Linked DNA regions of Homo sapiens: region 1 is linked to region 2. Evidence: promoter capture Hi-C in human tissues and cell types (Jung and others, 2019). All regions are on one chromosome and are shown on one strand. The core of a region is centred on a gene start or on the middle of the fragment in contact, and the rest is flanking DNA. Distances in the headings are between cores, read along the strand shown. Region 1 overlaps TMEM9 (transmembrane protein 9). Region 2 holds the start of LAD1 (ladinin 1).

Region 1 (7,121 bases), core at 3,175-5,674, 250 kb before region 2:
GGCCGCAACTTCCCCTACAGGAGGGAGCATGGCTCGCCAGCTTCTATGTGCTGCAGCCTATCACAGCCTACTGTCCTCCCAGGCAGTCCTGCCACAGTTACCAAATCTAGCCCTTCTTCCTCCCAAGGCCCCCTCATACAAACAGGCTTCAAATGAGGAGCACTCCAGGTCTCCTGGGGGTAAGAGAGACCTGGGTTCATACCCAGGGACGGCAAGCTGCTCTCCCCAAGCTGCCCTCCCTCTGGCTCCCTGGCTAGGATGGCAGGAGACATAACAAGGCCATGCCCCAGAGCCATGCATTCCACGGAAATCATTGGGCTGCATCTCTCAATTACTACCCCAGCCAGGACTGCAATTACCACATTACCCCTAATCGCTGAGTGTTTATTAGCGATGCTCCTCCCCTATCAGAGCTGCTATTACTCTACATTAATAACCAGGTAGGCACACGAGGTTTCCTCTTGAACACAGACCACCCAACTGCCAGTGCCACCACCTCCCAGGCCCTAGCTCCAATGGGGCGAGGCTCATCCCCTCTGCTCCACCTTCGGCCAAACTCATGTCAGCAGGAGGCTGGGGGCAAACTGGGAGCAGTCCAGGCATGTGCGCAGGGTGGGGCAACACAGCCCTCGAGAGCAGCCAGGCTCCCTCCCTGATCTGCCCTTCTCTTCGCTGTTCATGCTGGCCCAGACCCACATCACCCAGGCAGCTTCACACTTAGACTTGAGCCCCTGGGTCCTCTTTTTGGTGAGGAACTGGCTCATGGTCTTGCAAGGGAGCCCAGCCCACCTACCCCATAGTTAGACCACGCTGTCTACAGGAAGACTCCCAGCCTCCTCCTCATATTGTGTTAAATCTCTCTGTCCCTGGATGAAGCCAAGCTGTCTTCTACAAACTTCTGAAGGCAGCTATCATGCGTCTCCTTTAGTTGTTTTTCTTTTCCTTTAAGCTAAATGACTCTCAGTTTCTTCAACTAATTCTCTGAGGCCTAGCTGAGGCGCTTCCCGACTAGATATTCCTTATGCATACGCATGAGTTCACTCAGGGCATCCCTCCATCAGTCAATAAACAGGAGTATCTTCCAGCAGCAAGGCCCTGGGGACAGAGCTCAGAGTGGAAGCAGCAGCCAACCCCGCCTGCCTTGGCTCCACGCCTCTAAGCAGCCCGCTCTGCTGTCTCATGCACCCAGCTAGCTGGTACATGAGCGCATAAAGGGGGAGCCCGAGGCACACGGGGCTGTGCAGTCCTCACTCAGGCAAGATTCCCCTAGACCACCTGGGGAGTGCAGGGCTCATCACAACTCTGCTCAGCATGGAGGTACACCACGTCTCACTCCCACGAAGAGCCCTTCACCTGAGCCCTCCTGTCCCCCCGGGTTTCCTCGCCATGGTGTCCACAACTTTTTAGTATGAGGATGAATGGGAAGACGGTGACAGCGCTTGTTAACTGCACTGGGCCTGGTCCAAGCCCTGCCAGCTCCCCACCATTGCATGAACTCCTGGAGGCCTTGCAGGCTGTCTGGGGTCAGTGGTTCCCCACTTTCCTTGTCAGATAAAGCCAAACCCCCTTAGCTTGACATTTGGGACTTTTAATAATGTGACCTAAATCTACTGGCCAGCTCTCTTTGCCACTATTCAAACATCTCTACCCTATCCTTGCAACGCTCAAAATTCCTCACACATACTTGGCAATGTCCCCTGCCCGGCACCACTGTCTCATTCCTCTTCCGCTCTTGAAATCCTACATTTCTCCCCAGACCCTGGAGCTCTGGTTTGCATTGAGCAAGTGTTCAACAGATGTTTGTGGAATCACTGGACAAACAAATTAACCTGCTGCCGTCCAGTCCACCAGCAGCTTGTCACCAATGTCTGAGCACACGGGGGATATCATGTGTATCTATGTGTGACTGGCTCTGGCTGGCTGCGCCCCCTCTGCCTGGAAGCACAGTACAGCAGGATGACATGGCTCCCCCGGCTTGTACATGGAGACTGCTTGATGCCCGGTGTCCTGCTTCATCTGGAAGGGCAAAGAGCAGGTCCCTGCTGAGTCTGGGTGATGTGTACGACACTGACCAGAAGAGCAACTTGAAGCATTTTGGGGAGGTGGGACCTGGACCTAGGTGACGCTCCTCTGGGTTTTGCCCTGGGGACGCACATGCAGGGACCCAGGGCCTGGGCACTCAAAGCCCTCTTACCTCATTCTCCTCCTCATTGTGCAGTTGCTCAGTATATGCATCCGGCTTTCGGATCAGAGGGTCCACCAGCATCAGGAAGGCCATGTAGAGCAACAGGGCACCCACCACGGACAGGTAGATGACAATGATGACCTGAGGAAGAGACCGGCGTGCCTATGAACCATTATCTGAGGCCAGGGCTAGAAATCCGTTGCTAGTCTTGGGCCATCTGTGTCCGGCTGGCAGTGACTCCTCAAGTGGTGCACTAAGAAAGGACTTGGAGGCAACGTGGGCTCAGAGGGAAAGCATGCCCAGAAAGGAAAGGGAGGGCCCTACTCCACAGAGGAAGCACTCTGTCCTAACTTGAGGGAGTCTGCACAGCAGGCATCACGACAGCAGGCAGATGACAGAGGAAGAAGTCTGGAGCCTGATGCCGAGAGGCTCCCGGGGTAGAGATGGGAACACAAGGGCCTCCCTGGCTGTAGAAGAGTTCATGATGAAGGGTGGAAAGCAATCAGAAACTAAGAGCAAGGAAGAACAGGCTGTGGAGAGGCTGGAAAGCTGGGGCCAGGAAAAGTAAACCTGGGCTGGTGGGCTCATTGCTCCTGTGGAGAGCAAGACGGATGGGGCGCGCTGGCCCACTCATGGCATGCCCCTGAGCAGAGTGGCTAGGGCTGGTAAGAAGGTGTGTGCTGGGGGTGAAGGTCACGCCTGCCCTCCCATCAGCCCCTCTGCAGGGAGGGGAAAGCCAAGGGTAGAACAACAACTCCACGAATCTCTTACATACACAGTGCTTCACAAGCTGGAGTCATTTTGTTTTTACAGAAAAGACAGATTTAATGAGGCAAATTCAATGTTTCTCAATGTGGGTGCTCTGGGATTTTGGGTGGGACATTTAGCATCCATGGTCCCTGTAACAGTGTTGGTAATACACCTGTTATTGGGACCACAAAAGCACCTTCACCCACCTCTAAATGCCCCCTGGGGGGGCTGTAATCATCTGATTGAGAACTGCTGGGCTAGATCACCTGTGATCCCAAGGCTACCAGATGGTGGAGGTGTGACTCAAACCCAGACTTGCTGACTCCCTCTCAAATGCTTTTCCTAATTCCACAATGCCTGGCCATTGCCGGCTTCTGATCTCAGCCCTGCCCTACCTAGACTGTGAAGAAGAGTGAAAAAAAGAACCTCAGGACTTTCAAGCTGGGTGCCCCGCTCAGCCAATAGCCAAGTTCCACTGGACCAATGTCCCACCTGATTGGGGCACCGCGTTCACGCCTGTTTAAACAGGGCAAATAATCAGACCTCACCTGTACCCCAGGAAGGCGGAAGGAGAACAGAGGCTGGGTCTTCAATAGGCTGAAGTTGAGGGGAGCCTCCTAGGTAGGAGGACTGGGGGAAACACGAGGGATTAGGAAGTTGTATCTGATGAGGTCCCCATGCCAGGAAGTTCCCTCCCGGCCAAACAGGGAGCAGCGGTGACATCTGGCTCTGAATTTCAGGTCTCAGGCATCTGGTCCCTGGAGGGTGAGGCCCACTGGAGCAAGTTCAGAGAAGGAGAATGACAGTTGCAGGAGGGGCTGCCTCAGGTGGATGAAAGGAGTTGGGTCTGCACAGGGCACTGGCTGGGAGTGAAGGACAGACAGCTGCTTTTTCCCTGAGTGGTGAGAACACAGAGGAGCTACAGCACAGGGCTCCCTGGAATAGGCAGGAAGGACAGCAGTGAAGACCACCGCCCCCTAAATGTGCCTCGAAAGGAGAAACCTGATGGAGGACCCAGCAGTGCCTTTAAATATGAGAATTATTTTCCAATGCTATTTATAGACTCTTCAAAGGACAAGCAGAAAAATGCTACAAACTGGAACAGAAAGGGCTACATTAGGCCAGGCATGGAGCTCACACCTATAATCCCAGCACTTCGGGAAGCCAAGGCTGGAGCAGTGCTTGAGGCCAGGAGTTCGAGACAAGCCTGGGCAAGACAGTGAGACCCTGTCTCTACCAAAAATTTAAAAAATTAGCTGGGTGTGGTGATGTGCACCTGTGGTCCTAGCTAATCAGGAGGCTGAGGTGGGAGGGTTGCATGGGCCTGGGAGGTCAGAGCTGCAGTGAGCTGTGATCGTGCCACTGGACTACAGCATAGGCAACAGAGTCAGACCCAGTCTCTAAAAAACAAACAAAAAAAGAAATGGCTATGTAATCAGTGAGTACTGTGTGTGCCAGGTGCCTGGCCCAGGATTGTTAGAACCTGGACTAGGAAGCCGCACTGGGGGGCTGGGGGTCATGACGGTCTCTGCTAGGGCGGCTTCACAGCCTCTAGAAGACACGGGAAGTTCTGCCTGGTGCAGGAATGAACAGACACCTCGTGACGTCTATGGTGGTGACTGTGTCTATCATCTCTTTCCTGAATTCACCCAAATGATCAATGAGAAGGTGGTTCAGGAAAACACAAAAGAACCAATCTGATGTTCTCCCAGCACCCAACACCCAGCCCTAGTCCACAGCTCTGATGCTTTTTAGAGGAGCTTAGTCACTTTGGAAGCTTAATTAGACTAAGCTCCAGGAGGGCAGCCCAACCTCCCCATTGGCAGCATCTTGCCCAGAATATAGCAGGCACCGAAAAGAGATTTACTGGATGAATAGAAGAAGGGAGAGGAACGAAATAAACTGTAAAGAATGCAGGGAAAAAGGAGTCTCCAGCAGCTCTCCCAGGGCTCTCCCCTCTCACTGTAATGGTAACTACTGGAAAGAGAGCAGAGAAGGGAGCTGGCTCCAGGAAGGTGTGGGATGTGGGTCCCAGTGTCTGCACTAGGCCAGCCTAGAAGCCAGTCTCATAGCCATTGGGACATTCCAGAATAAAGTGAAAAACTGTGGGTGTAGGCCAGTCTGCGATTGGAGAATGGCGTGTGGGAATCCCACTGGCTTCCTGAGACCCTGGCGTTACCTTGATGGTGGTGGTGCTGCGCTCCTCGTACCTGCACTCGCACAGCAGGCAGTAGGCCTCCACGTCATGGCCAGGCACTGGCATGGGCTCCACCACGTGCAGGCAGTTGCTACAACAGAGAGAGACAGGGCTGTCGAGGCAGGGCCACCACGTCTTAGAGCCTCAAGACCAGAGAAGCAGGTAGCCAGGGGAGCTGAGAGGTAGGGGCTAGGCAAAGGTGAAGGGTGCTCCCAGAGAGGGCCAAGGGCTTATAAAGGATTAGGCTGGCAGAAACCCTTCCTAACCCACAGCCTCACAGCCCATGCCCCTTACACATCAAAACCAGCTCTCCAAACTGCCTACAGGGCTGGCTCCAAAACCATCAACGTTCCCAGGGTTCTACCCCCAGCCGCCTTCCTCATCTCATGCTATGTTCTCCCGGCATGTGCTCATCTGTCCCAAAGGTTCAACTCAGAAGCTGACGGATCTTAGATCAGAATCTCCAGCCAGGGCCGCTCTCCTCTATGAGCTACAGGAGTCACTATGTGCATGTCCCATAGAGACCATGAACTCTACACCCGCCCCTGCACACCCTTTGCCCTCAACTCCCTACTCCTGCAAACTGGCTCCCCATTTGCAATGGCAGAGAGAACACTTCTACCGTCCACTTCACTGTCCGGGTCAAACCCTGGAAATCATCTTTGACACTGCCTTCCTCTCATCTAAGTAAAATCACCAAAGGCCAGTGATTTTACTTCCCTAAAAATTCCTAGAATCCATCTCCTTTATTCTCTCCCACTGCTGTGTCTTAGCTGAGGCCCTCATCCTATCTTCCTCGGACAACCGCACCAGCCTCCGCGCTGCCCTCCTGCCTCGAGTTTGGCCTTTCTAACACATACTACCTTCCCACGGCAGCCAAGTGGTTTTCCAGAATGCAACTCTGGTCATGTCATTCCCCAGCTTAGGCCCGGTCAGTGCCTCCACAGAGCCCCTAGGGCCAATGCTAACTCAATTGCTCTGCCAGGGGTCCCAACCCACCTCACTCCAGTTCCATCTCTTGCTACGCCTCCCTCACCCACTTTCCCAACCTCCAGCCACACGGATCTGCCAGGCTGCTCTCTGAAGGAGCCACACCCACACTCTCACCAGGAGGGCATGGCTTTGCCACCTCATCTTTTAACTCTCAGCTTAGCCACCTGTGCCCAATAGCCAGCTCCCCCCAACCCCCCGCCAATGCACTGCATTGTAATCCAATCTTTATTCGTGCTGTCTCCCCAGGAGATGTACGTTCCTTGAACACAGGGTTATGTCTTATACATCTCCATATTCCCAGTACCTAGCTGGGTGCTGGCCAGAGCAGGCTTAGTAACTACATGATTCCCAAAGGAAGAGTAGACCCACTTTCATCTAACAGCACTCTTGCGTAAGGTGGGATAAAGATCATAGGTTCCACATCTAAAAACAGGGAAAGAGGCTTAGGAGGCAAAGTGGCATCTCCATAGTGGTAGTGAGGCCAGAACCCAAATCTAGACCCTCAGCCACAGGTCTTTACTTCTGACTCAGCCTCAGTGGGGCCTGGGCTGGTACCTGGCTTGTCTCAGGCCTCTCATTCCCAGCCTTCCTCAGATCAGCATGGTTCCAACCTGTTTGGTTCAGGGACCACACTGACAAAGCAAAAAACTCTACAGAATGCACCTTCATTACTACCAATGGAAAAATCCAAACCCCTTGGAGGTGTGCAGAGGTGAAGCAGGTGTCATGCTGCAATGCACCTGGGCTCTGTCCTGGCTCTGCCACCAAGTGTCTATACCCTGGGCCCGTTCTCTTCTCTTTGAGATAAAGCGGTTGCACCGGATAATCTTTAAAAGGCCCTTCCAGCTCTGACAGGAGTCCTGCAAGAGTCAAGCATAGCTCCCTTCTGAGCTACAGGGCTGGGTTTCTGGCAGAAGCATCAAGGGTGTGTGATATAAAGACCATGTGTTGGATTAAGAATGGGATGTGCTCTAAAGGACTCTGTTCTCCCAAAAA
Region 2 (6,519 bases), core at 1,034-3,533:
CAGCTCACCACTGCCCCCCCAATCCCAGGGTTGGAAGACTTGAATCTCTGCTCCATGCCAAGGATGGGCTGCAGGCTGGCCCCCAGCTACCCACCCACCTCTCCATCCACCTCCCCACCTGGGACCGTGCTGTCACACCCTAGCACGGTCCTCCCCAGCCCAGGAGGCTCTGTTGACAGTGACTCACAGCCCTTTCCTGCCTGCCCGCTGAGGCTTGTTCACCCAGGGAGCGGAGCGGGAGCGGTCCTCTGTTCCAGGTGCCTCATCAGGGTGACTGTTGGCAGCAGCTGCGTCTGCCCACAGGGCTCTATGAGGGCTGGGACCCGGCAGGGAGGGCAGGCCAGGGGCCCCTGTGGCAGGACTGTTCCCCAGAGCTTCCTGGCACTTACCCTGGACATCTTGTGGGAACTTGGCTGTAGCCACATGAGTCCATGTCCATCTGAGCAGTGGACAAGCTTAGGCCAGACCTTGCTCCCATTTTCAAAGTTCCAGTGCCCCAGCTGCCTCCCCACACACACACACCCCCCCATGCATATCCAGGCATGCTTTCAGACACAAAATCACATATATCCCACCAGACTATGAACTTCTGAAGAAGGAGTGTCTGGTTTGTATTTTTAACCCAATGCACAGTACTGAGGTCTTCAATAAACAGTTCAACTGAACATATGCAGACTGACAAACTCAAGACTCAGCAACATAAGAACCAGCTCCCCACACAGATGTGTCATCTCTTCATAGGCCATAAACACACTTGTCCACAAGTATGCCACACACACACACACACATAAGCATACATTCATAGGCACAGGTAGGCCCACATCTAGAAGCAAAGACACTCCCACATCAACCCCCAGGCACACTGACCCACATGCAAAGTCCAAGACCTTGACTCCTCAGCCGCACCCTCAGCATAGACCTTCCTCTATAGCAGCCTGGGTTTCTTTTCCAGAGCACTGAGTTCCCTCCATTCGTGGGGCTTACCTTTTCCCCTCTCTAGAGCCCATGGGCTGCCCACAGTGCTTCAGAGCACTGTGAGGTCTTGAGGGTCTGGGGAGGTGGCCCCCCAGTCCCAGGCGATGAGCTGCTATGGAGAGGCTAAGCCTGAGACAATGAGGTAGTTCTGGAGCCCTTATTAAGGGAGGGCAGGAGCGGGGTAGAGGACATACTAGAGCACTGGAAAAACCTGTGAAAGATGCCTTGCTGGGGAAAGCCTACAGGACCCAAATGGCTGGAGGGTCTGCACCTGGCAGAGATAGCCCTGGCTCAGGAAAGGCCAAGACCCAAATGCCCACCTGGGAGGAGCTAAGAGGCTAATATCTACCTGGCTAGAAAGGGATCAAAAGAGCAGGCTCCAGCTCTGGGCTACCGCAGGAGCCTCAGTTTCCTTAGGGACAAGATGGGGGACGGGGGCGCCCAGTGGAGGAATGAGGTGAAAATGCTCACAGGGGGCCTTCTTGGCAGAGGTGCAGGGTCGCTCCAAGAGAAGTCGCTAGAGGTCACCAATCTCCATGAGGGGTGCTGCCTTCTGAACACCCGCCTTCCCCAGGCCTCTCGGACCCTGATGGGATGTCCAGCAGGCAGGGGTAGGATGCCTCATCCCCGACCCTTTAGGAGACCAGTGTACAAGTAAAGATTGCAGCAGCACAGATGGGGATGGCAACTATCTTAAGGTTCCCAGCCCAGATGCCACCCCAAAATGCCATGCTGAGATTCTGAGCGTCCTTAGTGGGAGACGGGTCTGCTTCCCTCCAGTCCTCTTCACTGACCCCTCCAAGACGGCTCTCCCTGCTCCCCCTCCCAAGAGGGGCTGTGGGACACCTCCCAGGGGTCCTCTCCGCCAGAGACACACGGGGGCAGTGAGAGAGGCTTCTCTCAGGAATGAGGCTTGGAGGTTACTCCTGAACACCTCCACAATCCCCCAAAACGTTCCTTCCTGCTTCCACCTTCCACAGGGGGGGCCATATCCCAGCGGGCGTCCAGACTGAGGACCAGCCTTCCCCTAAGCACCCTGTGTGGGGCCTCAGGCCCCGAGGGGAGAAGACCCACCCTGTAACCTCAGGGGTCCCGAGTTTGGCCCCAATCCTGTCTCCCGCGAGTCGCAGCAAGACCAGGATCCAGCCTCAGTGTCAGGGTCCCAGGCGGGGAGGAGGCCGGTGCCCCGAGGAGAGGAGACCCAAAGGCTCCCCGCCGACCCCCCGCCCCTCCCGGCTCCCTCCGGCGCTCACCTGGACAGCGCGGACCAGTCCTTCCTGCTGACAGCCATGCTGCAGGAGCCCCGCGTGGCCGCCCGCGCCCCGCCGGCCGCCGCCTCACCTGGCGCCCCTCCCCTTCCAGCCCAGGTGGGATCACATGGCCGCTTATCTCACCCCCGCGCGCCCCGGCCGCGCTCCGATTTGCCGACCCGGGAATGGCCTCTGGGATGTGGGCGTCCCAGACAAAGCCGCATTGATTGCAGCCCAGGCCGGCCCGGCCGCGAGGCCGCAAGCACTGGGTGGACCGTCGGACGGATCGCGGGACCGAACGACGGACGCCCGGGGCCGGCGTGGGGCTGGTCGGCTGCCCGGGGCGAGGGCGGGAGACTTCCTGCTCAGAACCAGTCCGACCAGCTTGGCGCTGGGACGCCTCCCCGCGCTGTGCCGCGGCCCGGGGTGCCGAGGAGCTGGGCTGGGGGCGGGGACCCCTGCCGGGAACCCGACTTAGCCCGGAGACGCTCAAGAGCAAGAAGCCGAGCGGAAAAGTTAGCGCAGGTACTGTGATCTCGGGTCTAGAGCGCCCGCGCCTTCGGGGCCCCTTCGCAGGGAGCGCCCTCCCCACTCCCTGGCTTCGGAACCCACCCGGGCCCACCGTCCCAGTAGGCCTCGCTGAGATGAATGAGGCATTGCTTTCTGAGCTGCACACAAAACATGCCCCTGGTAGACCCAGCCCCACCCAAAGGGAGAATCTTAGACTCAATTCAGCAAACATTTGTGAAAGCACAAATATGTCAAAGGCACTGTCCTTGCTCCCTGATACTGGACTTTGGGCTAGAGTGGCAGGGTGTATAATAAGGGCAGAGGAAGCTCAGTTTTTCTTCCCCAAGGAAAGATTAAACACAGATATCTAGGACTCGAATTTTGGAGCACCGTGAGACAGCTCAGGCACCCCTGACACCACCTGGCTCCCTTTAGGTGCCCATCTGGGCTGGTGCGGGGCCAGGTGCTTTCTATCCAGGAACCAGCCTCAGGTGGGCTTGGGCTAAGAGAGGGTCAGGCGTTGAGCATGGGGAATCTTATCTTCCCTGATGGATCTGAACTGCAGGGTCAGCGCACAGTTGCTGTTCCTGCCCTGAGAGGAAGGAGGCACAGCCCCAGCGCCAGGATGAGAATATCAAAAGGGAGCCTGAGCCAGAGCCAGAACTGCCCTCATGCTCCTGGGCCTCGCTGCCCAGCCTCAGCCTCTCTTTGGTGCTCATGTCAGGCCTTCCAGCTCTGAGATCTCACGGCAAAGGGCAAGCTAGCTGCCGGGCAGAAGCCTGGAAACACAGACACAGCCAGCCTGTTGAGATTCCCCCTCCCGAAGTACCCCCTCCTCCAGGGAGCCTTCCTTCTTGGCAAGGGTGGGACGAGGTCCAGGACATGAGAACTGGACTGGTAACTTGCACACTTGAGCTCTGATTCTGACATTTGTGAACTGTGTGACTTGGGACAAACTCCTTCAGTTTCCTTATCTGTGGAGTGGATGTTACGATACCTTGCTCTGCTTCCTTCCAGGTTGTGGAAATCATATGAGTTCCCTGCTAGTGACATTGGAGTGCACAGATGAATATCGACAAGGCTCCAGGGAGTTCTGAACAGAGGCCAAGGCAGGCCCTGGAGCTGTATGCTGCTTACAGGAAAAGAGAAAGAGGGGACCCCAATAGTCTAGGTCCCTGGATCCTCTGACCCGGGGCCTGACACTGTCAGGGAAGCTGCTGTCTCCCTAGGGACCTACTGAATGTTCTTCCCATGGCTGGTCAGTGCTGACACCTCAACACAGGAAGAGAAATACTCCTATGAAGTCATCTGAAGCCTGGTCATGCCAGGGACACTTCACGAAGGCAGGAACAGTCCTGTTTCTAAAAGCCCAAAATCTAACAGCCTCTCTACAGATATAAAAGCCCAAAGACATGGAAAGTTTGTATGCAGACAACCCTAGAAGTAAGGAAAAGTGAATGACATATATGTCAATGCCCAGAAAGTTCCTTGAGATCAGACACTGTACATTTATGGGATACTTTCTAAGTGCCAGCTACTGTACTTGGTGCTGGATCAGTGCATCCATTTCCCGGGGCTCCCGTGATGAAGTGCCACAAACTGGATGGCTTTAAACAACAGAAGTTTACTCTCTCACAGTTCTGAAGGTTAGAAGTCTGCCATGAAGATGTGAGCACAGCCAGCCTCTCTCCAAAGGCTCCAGAGGAGAATCCTTCCTTGCTTCTTCCCAGAGCTCCTTGGCATACAGCTGCATTACTCCAAGATTTGCCTCTCTTGTCACACAGCATTCTGCCTGTGTCTCTTGTTTGTGTTCAAGTATCCCTCCACCCTAATTTAGTATGACCTCATTTTAGCTTGATTATGCCTGCAAATACCCTATTTCCAAATGAGGTCACATTCACAGGTACCAGAAGTTATGAATTGAACACATCTTTTTTGGGATGTGTTCTACCCATTATAATTCATTCTACCCACTATAATCACAAGTGGCTTTGACATTCAGTGACACAAAGATGATAAGGACTCGGTTCCTGACCTCAGGACATTCTCAGTCTATCAGTGAAGACAAACACATGCTGGTGAACACACACACATACACAAGCACACATATACCCCGAGCCTCATTCAAGTCAGACTGTGATTAAAAATGGAAATTGTGTCATCAGGAGGGATTGGGGAAGTCTTCACACAAGAAAGAACATCTAAGTTGGGCCTTGAAGGGTAAGTGGAATTCAACTGTCAGAAAGGGTGTAAGGGCATCCAGCTATAGGACACAGCATAAACAAAGACATTGGGACATAAACATGAAAGGTGTGTGTGGAACAGAGAGAAGACTAGTCTGCGTGAAGCATTGAGCCCCTTCCAAGGCTGAAAAGAAAGGTTGGAGACAGGTAGTAAGGACTTTGTGTGTTGTGCTAAAGAGTCAGTCAGCCTTGGCCGGTTATGGAGACTCACACGTGTAATCCCAGCATTTTAGGAGGCTGAGGCGGGCAGATCACTTGAGGTCAGGAGTTCAAGACCAGCCTGGGCAACATGGCAAAACCCCATCTCTACTAAAAATACAAAAAATGAGCTGGGCGTGGTGGCACACATCTGTAATCCCAGCTATTTGGGAGGCTGAGGCAAAAGAATCACTTGAACCTAGGAGGCAGAGATTGCAGTGTGCCAAGATCACACCACTGAACTGCACTGCACTCCAGCCTTGGCAACAGAGCAAGACTCTGTCTCAAAAAAAAAAAAAAGCCTTTATCCTGTAGAATTAAGTTGAATATAGAAAATGAGAAGGGTTTGGAGGCAGTGTGGCAAGAGATCACACTGGAAGGGAGACAGCTTAGGGGGCTATTTTTTATAGTCAACAAAAGAAATGAAGGCCCTGAGCAAGGGCACCAGGAGGATGGGGAGGAGAAGGTGTTGGCAGGAGTTTTGGAAGGCTGGATGGCCAGGACTGAGTTGATTGACTACGGCTTGTGAGGGAGGAGAAATCTAGGTGACTCCCATCTCCCTGCTGGAGGGACTGGGTGAATGAGATGCCATTGATGAGACAGGGATGTGAGAGCAGGAGATCTAGGGAGGGGTGACTTTAGACCACCGAGGGTTTCTCAGCCTCAGCATTATGGCCATTTCAGCCTGATAATTCCTTGTCGGGGGCTGTCTGTGCATTGTGAGATGGTCACCAGCATCCTTGGCCTCTACTCATTTGAATTTAACATCCCTGAAGACAGCCGGATGGAGCTGCCCAATAGATGGTTGGGTGTTGGAGCGGGGGAGCTCAGGAGACAGCTTTGCATTGTGTTTTCCATAGCATGCAAGGGCCCTTGCTGAGTAGGAAGGAGGAGGGAATGACTCCTTGTGAGCAGCGAGGTTGGAGTTCAAGTTATCTGTGCCCATGCCCTGGCTCCCCAAGCATCTTGTGGGTGCCTTGAGAAGAAAAAGAATGTCTTATTTGCCTCAGTATCCCCTCAATACTATGCCTGGCAGAGTTGGTGCTTAATAAAGGTTTAGAGAATTGCACTAACTTGATTTGGAAAGAACAGGAAAACCCAAATAGCCTGAGAGCCCCTGCCAAGAGTAACATTTGGAAGCTGAGTCAGGAAGAAGCTGAGATCAGGTGAGGTTAAGTATCCAGGATCTCTGGTCTCCAGGATCTGCCAAAACCAGGATGTGGAGCATCAGCAACTGTCATAGTTGTTGATGGGAGTGTAAGTGGTACAACTAGCAAAGGTGGGGATGTCATTCTTGTCGACCCAACAGTTGCACTCCTGGGTAGAGAAGCTCTTGAACATGA

Evidence for each region. The method cuts DNA at HindIII sites, captures the fragments that hold promoters and counts their contacts. A contact is called where the count stands out against the background at its distance.
Region 1: a fragment that was not itself captured here is called in contact with the fragment with the promoter of LAD1 in region 2 in 1 of the 25 tissues and cell types used here (IMR-90 fibroblasts).

Annotation. Positions count from the first base shown.
Region 1 is chr1:201,141,626-201,148,746 of GRCh38, forward strand. It overlaps TMEM9 (transmembrane protein 9), which reads right to left. Exons shown (of 5, transcript NM_001288565.2): 3 at 5,115-5,223; 4 at 2,195-2,326. Among named protein-coding and RNA genes, the nearest start is that of TMEM9, 9.3 kb to the right of the region's middle. The HindIII fragment of the contact is 5,250 bases long and covers 1,800-7,049 here.
Region 2 is chr1:201,397,041-201,403,559 of GRCh38, forward strand. LAD1 (ladinin 1) reads right to left here and starts at 2,284. Exons shown (of 10, transcript NM_005558.4): 1 at 2,229-2,284. The coding sequence starts at 2,266. LOC101929343 (a long non-coding RNA gene) reads left to right here and starts at 2,451. Exons shown (of 2, transcript XR_241172.3): 1 at 2,451-2,750; 2 at 3,753-6,519. RefSeq lists an enhancer at 1,980-2,642. The HindIII fragment of the contact is 11,842 bases long and covers 1-6,519 here.